Linked DNA regions of Homo sapiens: all the other regions are linked to region 3. Evidence: promoter capture Hi-C in 16 types of primary human blood cells and fetal thymus (Javierre and others, 2016). All regions are on one chromosome and are shown on one strand. Each heading gives the region's core, a stretch centred on a gene start or on the middle of the fragment in contact. The rest is flanking DNA. Distances are from core to core; before and after follow the strand shown. Region 1 holds the start of DENND6B (DENN domain containing 6B). Region 2 holds the start of PPP6R2 (protein phosphatase 6 regulatory subunit 2). Region 3 holds the start of ARSA (arylsulfatase A).

Region 1 (2,700 bases), core at 71-2,570, 300 kb before region 3:
AACTAAGAAAGGTTTTCAACCCTGGGCAGGTCACCACACTTCTTGGTACTCAGCCCCCACCCAGTGATGCTGTTTGAGGCTGTGCACCTGCTGGGGACCGTGTGTGGTGGGAGGGGCTCCAGAGAGTGCTAGAGTTAATGCTTTTCTGTTTAGAAGACTATATGCTTCTCATGGCCTCTTGGAGTTCAGCAGGGCCTTAGAAAGCATCTCCCAACCACAGAGACGCGCTGCCTGGCTTTCCTGATGATGATGATTTGGCCTGATCTTGGACACCTGCGGTAATAGAGAGCTCACTACCCCTCACGAGGTTCCTTGCGCCAGCGCGGGGAAGCCTCCCTCCATCTGCAGGTGGGCCTCCCCTGTGCTGGTCAGCTCCCTGGTGTGTGTTACACAGGACACAGAGAAGATCATCCTGCGGGGCCTCCCTGGAGGAAAGGAGGCTGCCTGTGTGGGTAGGTGAGTGGAGGCCTGCAGGCAGCAGAAAGACCACATCGAAAGCCCATGGGCACAGCCGATGAACAGACCCCCACGAGCAAGAACACCACAAGACGCAGGTGGAGGGACGGGGCCCATGGGGTCTGGATCTGATGCTAGGTGAACAAGGAGGCGCTGCAGGGTTTTAAGCAGGAGAGCCACAAAGGTTGAACTCTGGGGTGCAGCTGGGGTGGGGATGACATCAGTGATGGCAGCAAAGGAACGGATCCGAGACCTTTGTTGCAGAAGGAGCCGTCAGCCTCGCCTATGCCCAGAGATGGGATGCGGAGCGGAGGGTAAGCCCGGGACTCTGGCGGGAGCCACTGAGGGGATGAAGGTGTCACTGCTCCGGTGGGGAATGGAGGGGGGAGATGTGAGACATTTACTGGGAAAAATCGAAAGAGTACCACTTAGGTTATGCAAAATGCTCCATCCCAATGTGAAGACAAGATCCGACTCCGAGCAGCTCGCCTTCCCTCCTCGGCCTGGGGAGCGCTTCTGGAGCCCGGAGAAGAGGCCCCTCCAGGAGGCGGCGGCCGAAGGCCAGGGAGAGTGCGGGGCGGCCGAGGGCCCCAAGCGAGGCGGGACTGGCCCCGAGAGGCGCAGCCCTGCCCACCCGCCCGCGCCCGCGCTCGCGCCCGCTCACCTCCAGCGCCTGGCCCAGCTCCAGGTCGAAGGTGACCACGCACACACACTCCAGCCAGGCGGAGAAGCGCGCCCAGGGCGCCGCCGGGGTCCGCGCCGCGCGACCTGAAGACGTGGGTCCAGCCGCGCCCAGGCAGCCGCGAGCCCGGCGAGGCCCTGTGCCCAACAGCGCGTCCATGGCGGCGGCCGCGGGTTGCCGGGGAAACGCGGGCGGGGGCGGCGCGCGTCCGGGCCGCTCCTCAGAACAGTCGAGCGGCCGCCGCGGCCCAGTGCGGCTCCCGCGCGGCCGCGCGCCCCCTAGCGCCCGAGAAGCGCCAGCGGCCGGGCGCCGCCCAGGGCACCAGCGAGCCGGACGCGCGCGGGCCAGAGCGGCCGGAGCCCACTGGGGGACTTCCGGGGAAGCGGCCGAACTGGGGCCTTCCAGGGTCCACGCCGTCTGAGGCCCGAGAGAGTCGGTTCGGCCCCGGTGTTCGCGGATCCCGGCTCGCGGGAGCCTCGGGGCCAGGCCAGGGAGGCAGAGCAAGCTGCAGCCAGCCGGCGCCGGGCTCGTCGGGCTTCGCAGGTCCGGCCAGCCTACCTCGCCCCACCGCGCAGGGGCCAGCGGCGTCGCGGGCGTTTTCGTGGCGGAATGGCGTCCTCACTGAGCGCCCAGCCACCACCGCGGACTCGCGCTCGCTTCCTCTGGGGCCCGCGCGGCCTGGGGTCGTGTCTGACCGCGGGTGTCCACGCAACACCTCTGCAGTTTCACTTTCCGGGGGAATCGCGGGGACCTGGAGCGAACTCTTCCCTCCCTCGCGAGGGCCCCGGGCCCCGCTGTGGTCCACAGAGCACCTTGAGGCCCGGCGTGGAAGGGCGAGTTTGGGGCTGTCGGTAACTTAATGAGGCACGCCTTTGAGTCGTGGGCCTCATGACGTTTCCGTGGAAGGCGGGCCGCATATACTGTGGTGGTCCCTTCAGATTACCACGTGTTGGCCAGACGCGGTGGCTCACGCCTGTAATCTCACCGCTTTGGGAGGCCGAGGTGGGGTGGCGGATCACGAATCCAGGAAATCGAGACCAACCTGGTGAAACCCTGTCTCTACTGAAAATACAAAAATTAGCCGGGCGTGGTGGCTGGCGAGCGCCGTAACCCCAGCTATTGGGGAGGCTGAGGCAGGAGAATCGTTTGAACCCCGGAGGCGAAGCTTGCAGTGAGCTGAGATGTCGCCATTGCACTCCAGCCTGGGCGACAGAGTGAGACTCCATCTCAAAAATAAAAAAATAAAAGATTACCACGTGTTGTTCGGATCATCTGGCCTAGGTGTGGGGTAGGCTGTCCCATCTAGGTTTGTCACATAACAAAATCGCCTAATGACACATTTCTCAGGACATAGCTTCACCGTTGAGTAGCACATGGCCGTATTGTTTTTTGTTTGTTTGTTTCTGTTGTTTTTTTTGAGACAGAATGTTGCTCTTGTTGCCCAGGCAGGAGTGCAATGGCATGGTCTTGGCTCACTGCAACCTCTGCCTACTGGGTTCGAGCGATTCTCCTGCCTCAGCCTCCCGAGTAGCTGGAATTACAGGCGTGCACCACCACGCCAG
Region 2 (2,700 bases), core at 40-2,539, 280 kb before region 3:
CACTGGCTGAGCACAGGAGGGGTATCAAGATCAGGCAGAGTTGCACGTGCTCACGGCAGCAGGAGCATCTCCTGCATCTGGTGCCCCTGGCCCCAGTCCCCATTCCGTAGCTCAACTCAGCAGCACCTCCCGCTCCTGCAAAGGAGACCATGGTGAGGGCAGGAGAAGGGCATAGCCTGCTGAACGCAGGGTGTCTCTTCTCTAGGTTGTGAGGCTGAGGCTTTTTCACCCCCACTTCCTGGAAGTTCCCTCAACGGAACCTGCCAGAAATCTGCCCCTTAGGATGCTAGGGGAAAAGCTTTTGCTGGGGAAAGGCTCGCCAGAGGCATCTGCTATAAAACCGGCGAGGAGGGTGCTGCTGACCAGGGCAGGGGACAGGCGTCGGGGAAGCCCGGGGCCGCCAGCCGCAGGGCCAAGCCCTTTTCTCCTGCAACGTCTCTGGCGCCCTCTACCGACAAAGCCTAACAGCGCCAGCTGGCAAAAGAGAAATACCGAATATTTGAGCCGCCCAGATACGCTTTCGCAGAGAGCATCGGTGAATCCTGGGCAATACACTGACAACTGGAAAAAACGTTTAGAGATCCCTTAAGTGCTCCATGTTTTCCCAACATTTACCCACGGCTCGCTCTAACATCTGAAATAATAGTAATCATTTTTGAAATTATTTTGATGGAATTAAACAATTCCAGCACTTGTTAAATAGGCACATACTTAATTTGCAAAACGCCGTGCAAGAACCCGTAGCGCACCTGGAGAAAACTGTCTGGAGGCGGCTCAGGCACTCCGGGTCCAGGCAGGACGCGGGACGGGGAGGGGCCAGGCCTGGCGCCCGGGGCTGAGCCCGCTCCTGCTGCTCGGGGCGTCCACGCCCCGCGGCCTCTGGGAGGGGCCTGTGGCAGGAGGGAGGCCCGGGAGAACAGGCCCTTTCCTGGGCCACGGGGGAAACCCCTGCCCCAGGTGTGTGTCTCTCAAATGCTGCGTCGGGCCACGCGAGGATTGTTTTGTGGCTACAACAAAATTAACTATGCTTGCACAAAACTTTAGCCAATACCTCAAAGGGAAACGTAAAAGGGGAAAGACGCACTCTTACCCCACCCACTCCAAGGCAGCAGTCAGCACACCCAAGCCCTCGTGCTCCCACGCGGGTTTCACCGAGTGCCCCACTCCAGGGGGCCCGGAGAGCCGGCCCAGGTCCCGGCCCCGCCCACCCGCGCGGCCCCGCCCCCGGCCGCGAGCGTGCGCGCCCCAAGCGGAGACCCCGCCCCCGGAGCGCGTGCCCGTGCGCCGCCGCCGCCATTTTGGAGCGATCGGAGTGCCGCCCGCGGCCCCGAGTCGGTCTCGAGCCGCCGGCCGGCCGTGCCGGTGTCCGTAGGCGCTGCGCCCTCGGCCGGGCCCATGTGTGTGCGGCCCGCCCGAGGCCGCCCGGGCTTTGCCTCCACCAGCGCCCTGGCCTCCGCTCGGGCCTCCACACGGGCCTCCGAAGAGCTGCCGCGACGCCCGGCCCGCAGGGCAGGTGAGTGCGGCCGCCCGCCGCTCAGACCCGGCCCCCAGTCTGCCAGTGCCCCCCAAGTCACTTCTCCCCGAGTCAGTCAGTGCCCCCTCCAGATAGTTATCCCCCAGTCAGTCAGTTCCCCCTCCAGTCAGTTCCCCCCAGTCGGTGCCCCCGGAGTCAGTGCCCCCCCCAAGTCAGTCAGTGCCCCCTCCAGTCAGTTCCCCCCCAGTTAGTGCACCCTCTAGTCAGTTCCCCCAGTCAGTGCCCCCTCCAGTCAGTTCCCCCCCAGTCAGTTCCCCCCCAGTCAGTTTCCCCCCAGTCAGTTTCCCCCCAGTCAGTGCCCCCCAGTCAGTGCCCCCTCCAGTCAGTTCCCCCCCAGTCAGTGCCCCCTCCAGTCAGTTTCCCCCCAGTCAGTGCCCCCTCCAGTCAGTTCCCCCCCAGTCAGTGCCTCCTCCAGTCAGTTTCCCCCAGTCAGTGCCTCCTCCAGTCAGTTTCCCCCAGTCAGTGCCCCCTCCAGTCAGTTCCCCCCCCAGTCAGTGCCCCCTCTAGTCAGTTCCCCCCCAGTCAGTGCCCCCTCTAGTCAGTTCCCCCCCAGTCAGTGCCCCCTCTAGTCAGTTTCCCCCCAGTCAGTGCCTCCTCCAGTCAGTTTCCCCCAGTCAGTGCCTCCTCCAGTCAGTTTCCCCCAGTCAGTGCCTCCTCCAGTCAGTTTCCCCCAGTCAGTGCCCCCTCCAGTCAGTTCCCCCCAGTCAGTGCCCCCCCAGTCAGTTTCCCCCCAGTCAGTGCCCCCCAGTCAGTGCCCCCCAGTCAGTGCCCCCTCCAGTCAATTCCCCCCAGTCAGTGCCCCCTCCAGTCAGTTCCCCCCCCAGTCAGTGCCCCCTTCAGTCAGTTCCCCCAGTCAGTGCCCCCTCCAGTCAGTTCCCCCCCAGTCAGTGCCCCCCCAGTCAGTTTCCCCCCAGTCAGTGCCCCCCAGTCAGTGCCCCCTCCAGTCAATTCCCCCCAGTCAGTGCCCCCTCCAGTCAATTCCCCCCAGTCAGTGCCTCCTCCAGTCAGTTTCCCCCAGTCAGTGCCCCCTCCAGTCAGTTCCCCCCAGTCAGTGCCCCCCCAGTCAGTTTCCCCCCAGTCAGTGCCCCCCAGTCAGTGCCCCCTCCAGTCAATTCCCCCTAGTCAGTGCCCCCTCCAGTCAGTTCCCCCCCAGTCAGTGCCTCCTC
Region 3 (2,700 bases), core at 1-2,500:
AAGCCATGTAGCGGGCCTCTAGTCCGGGCAGCCAGGGGGGCTGCGCCTCCACGGACAGGTTGGCCAACAGTGGGATGGGGACCAGGCCCTGGTCACAGCCACCGTCGCAAGGAGTGGCCGGCGGGAAGCAGGTCAGGTTCTGGCAGGGGCCCTGAGGCGGGCAGCTGCCGTGAGGGCTGGGCTGGCAGGTGGGGCTGCGGGAGCATCAAGGGCTGGGGGACTTTGGGAGGTGGGAGGGTGGCTGAGGGCCCGGGTGGTTCCTACCTGGTCGTGGGAGTACGGGATGCCTAGAAATCGATGGAAGCCCTGATGGGGGGGCAGGAAGGCCCCCTCAGGCCCCACCCCAAGGTGCCACTTGCCGGCCATTCCTGTGAGGTAGCCTCGGGCAGCCAGGACTTCGGCCACGGTCACCTCCTCCAGGGGCAGGCCCCCCCGGGAGCTGGGCACCAGGACGCCAGGGTACATGCCCATCCGAACCGGGAGCCGGCCGGTCAGGAGGGCGGCCCTGCGGGACAAGTCACAGAGTCCCTGAGACAGACAGAAATGTGGCCTTCCCTAGAGAGAGAGACAGACGTTTTTCCCGCCCCCCTGCAATCCATTGGGAGGAAAGGGATGGAGGGTCGGGGCGGGGAAGAGGCGCGGCCCCCTCTTTACCTAGAGGGTGTGCACAGAGACACAGGCACGTAGAAGTCTGTGAACCGCAGCCCTCCCGCCGCCAGCTGGTCCAGGTTGGGAGTGGTAGAGCTGGGGTGCCCATAGCAGCCCAGGTCCCCATAGCCGAGGTCGTCGGCAAAGATCAGCACGATGTTGGGCGGACGGGCAACGGCCAGGCCAGCAGCCAGGGCCAGGAGGAGGGACCGCGGTGCCCCCATGGACATGGGACCGAGGGGTCTGTCCCAAGAGAGGGAGGGCTACTTGGCTCCAGCAGGCTCTTTCCGATACCGCAGACCCAGGCGCCGCCCTTCCCTGAGACCCCGGACCCAAATACTCCCCGACCCTGACGGCCGCCTCCTGAAGCTCCAGAGGGCCGGGGCCCGACAGTACCGGGAGACCGCGGGCTGGGACGGAACTCCTCCAGGACCAGGGCACCTTCAGATTCTCGAGCGGAGATCTGATCCTCCTCGCCTAGCGGTCCGGGCTCAGGGTCGGGGGCGTAAGTCACTTGGCGCTGACCAGCGGAGTCGGGCCGGGGGGAAGGCGCTAGAGGGAGCCCAGGAGGAGCCGGTACCGGGCTGCGGGCGCTTCCGCCTCGGCCCCGCCCCGTGACCTGTGACCCTTGCGGGGCGGGGCCGGGGGCGGGGCCGGGGGCGGGGCCGGGGGCGGGCCGGGGCGAGGGGCGTTGCTGCGCGTGCTCGCTCCGAGGCCGCCGTGTGCGCCTGAGGCTGTTGGCTGCGGTCTTGAAACGGGCTCTGGGAGCTTCCTCTGCGCGGTCGGCCCTGGCTGAGGCGTCCCGGGCTGCGCGCGGGGCTCGGCGCTGCGCAGTGTCCGGTGTCCTCTCGGTCCGGAGCTTCTCCAGAGGAGGAGCGGCTCGTGCGCCCCCAGACCTCCGGTACTGGGAGACTCGGGCCCTCCTGTAAGAGACCTGAGCGCGGAGCGTTATGGGCACCCGGTGAATGAGCAAATGGCAGGGAAAACCGTGCAGCCCCATGGACTGCGGGCTCTTCCTTCACGACTAGCAAAAGCTTTGACACCCTTTCTCCTGCGTACGCGTGTCTGTGTGCGTGTAAGCTGTGGCTGGGTGCGGGGGGCTGTGTACGTGTCTGTGTGTGGTGTGTGTGGAGTGTTTGAGGCAGGTGTGTGGTGTTTCAGGTGTGTGTGCATGTGTGGTGTTTGAGGTGTGTGTGTGTGTTTTTGTAGTGTTTGAGGGATATGTGTGTGTGGTGTTTGAGGTGGGTGTGTGGTGTTTGAGGGGTGTGTGTGTGTGGTTGAGGGGTGTGTTTGGTGTTTGAGGGGTGTGTGTGGTTGAGGTGTATGGTGGTTGAGGTGTGTGTAGTGTTTGAGGCACGTATGTGTGTGGTGTTGGGTGTGTGTGGTGTTAGAGGTGTGGCGTATGTGTGTTTGCGGTGGTTGAGGTGTGTGTGTGTGTCTGGTGTTTAGGGTGTGTCTGTTGTGTGCGTGTGGTGGTGGAGGCGTGGTGTGGTGTGGAATGTGTGTCTGGGGTCCAGTCTGGCCTGTTGCAGGGTTACGCTGCTGGGGAAAAACTCATCTGAGGACAACGTGATTGGGTCCTCGCTCCCTCGTTGGGCAGCCTTGGACTTAACCTTTTTGATCTTGAAGGAAAACACAATATGTCACCTCCAAATATATTTCCTTGACACGGTTCAAGACAGTTACTCAGAAGGACTGGAAATAGAAGAATAGCTGAAAAGCTGTCTTTTGTGGGGGAGATTTGCATCTGTGGAGAGAATCTACACTGATGCGGCCAGGCCTCCTCTGAGGCCCTCCTTGCCTGATCTGGGAAGAGTAACAGTCTGACGCCTTTAAAGGCCTGAAGGGAACATTCACCATCTGTTCTCTCTCAGGGCTGCTACCTGTGAGGTTTCATCTGTAGAACAAGGCCACCTTTGCTAGCCAGGCCTCCTCTGCTCTCCCTCCTGTAACCGGTCTTGCCACTGGTCACCTGATTTTCCACCATAAACTGTGGCCATACTTTGAGCCCATGTTCTTTCTGTAACCTCAAGATGGTATATAAGCTTCCGA

The links. The method cuts DNA at HindIII sites, captures the fragments that hold promoters and counts their contacts. A CHiCAGO score of 5 or more calls a contact.
Region 1: a contact is called between the fragment with the promoter of DENND6B here and the fragment with the promoter of ARSA in region 3, in 4 of 17 cell types (neutrophils, M1 macrophages, naive CD8 T cells and 1 more). The highest score is 7.7, in neutrophils.
Region 2: a contact is called between the fragment with the promoter of PPP6R2 here and the fragment with the promoter of ARSA in region 3, in 12 of 17 cell types (neutrophils, activated CD4 T cells, M0 macrophages and 9 more). The highest score is 8.8, in neutrophils.

Annotation. Positions count from the first base shown.
Region 1 is chr22:50,325,692-50,328,391 of GRCh38, forward strand. DENND6B (DENN domain containing 6B) reads right to left here and starts at 1,321. Exons shown (of 20, transcript NM_001001794.4): 1 at 1,121-1,321. The coding sequence starts at 1,297. RefSeq lists a silencer at 1,070-1,709. The HindIII fragment of the contact is 18,876 bases long and covers 1-2,301 here.
Region 2 is chr22:50,342,038-50,344,737 of GRCh38, forward strand. It overlaps PPP6R2 (protein phosphatase 6 regulatory subunit 2), which reads left to right and starts at 1,290. Exons shown (of 24, transcript NM_001242898.2): 1 at 1,290-1,513. RefSeq lists an enhancer at 1-644 and silencers at 741-910, 1,181-1,460, 1,471-1,550. The HindIII fragment of the contact is 9,108 bases long and covers 297-2,700 here.
Region 3 is chr22:50,626,902-50,629,601 of GRCh38, forward strand. ARSA (arylsulfatase A) reads right to left here and starts at 1,251. Exons shown (of 8, transcript NM_000487.6): 1 at 655-1,251; 2 at 265-505; 3 at 1-151. The coding sequence starts at 878. RefSeq lists an enhancer at 1-211 and a silencer at 1,146-1,335. The HindIII fragment of the contact is 2,215 bases long and covers 1-1,680 here.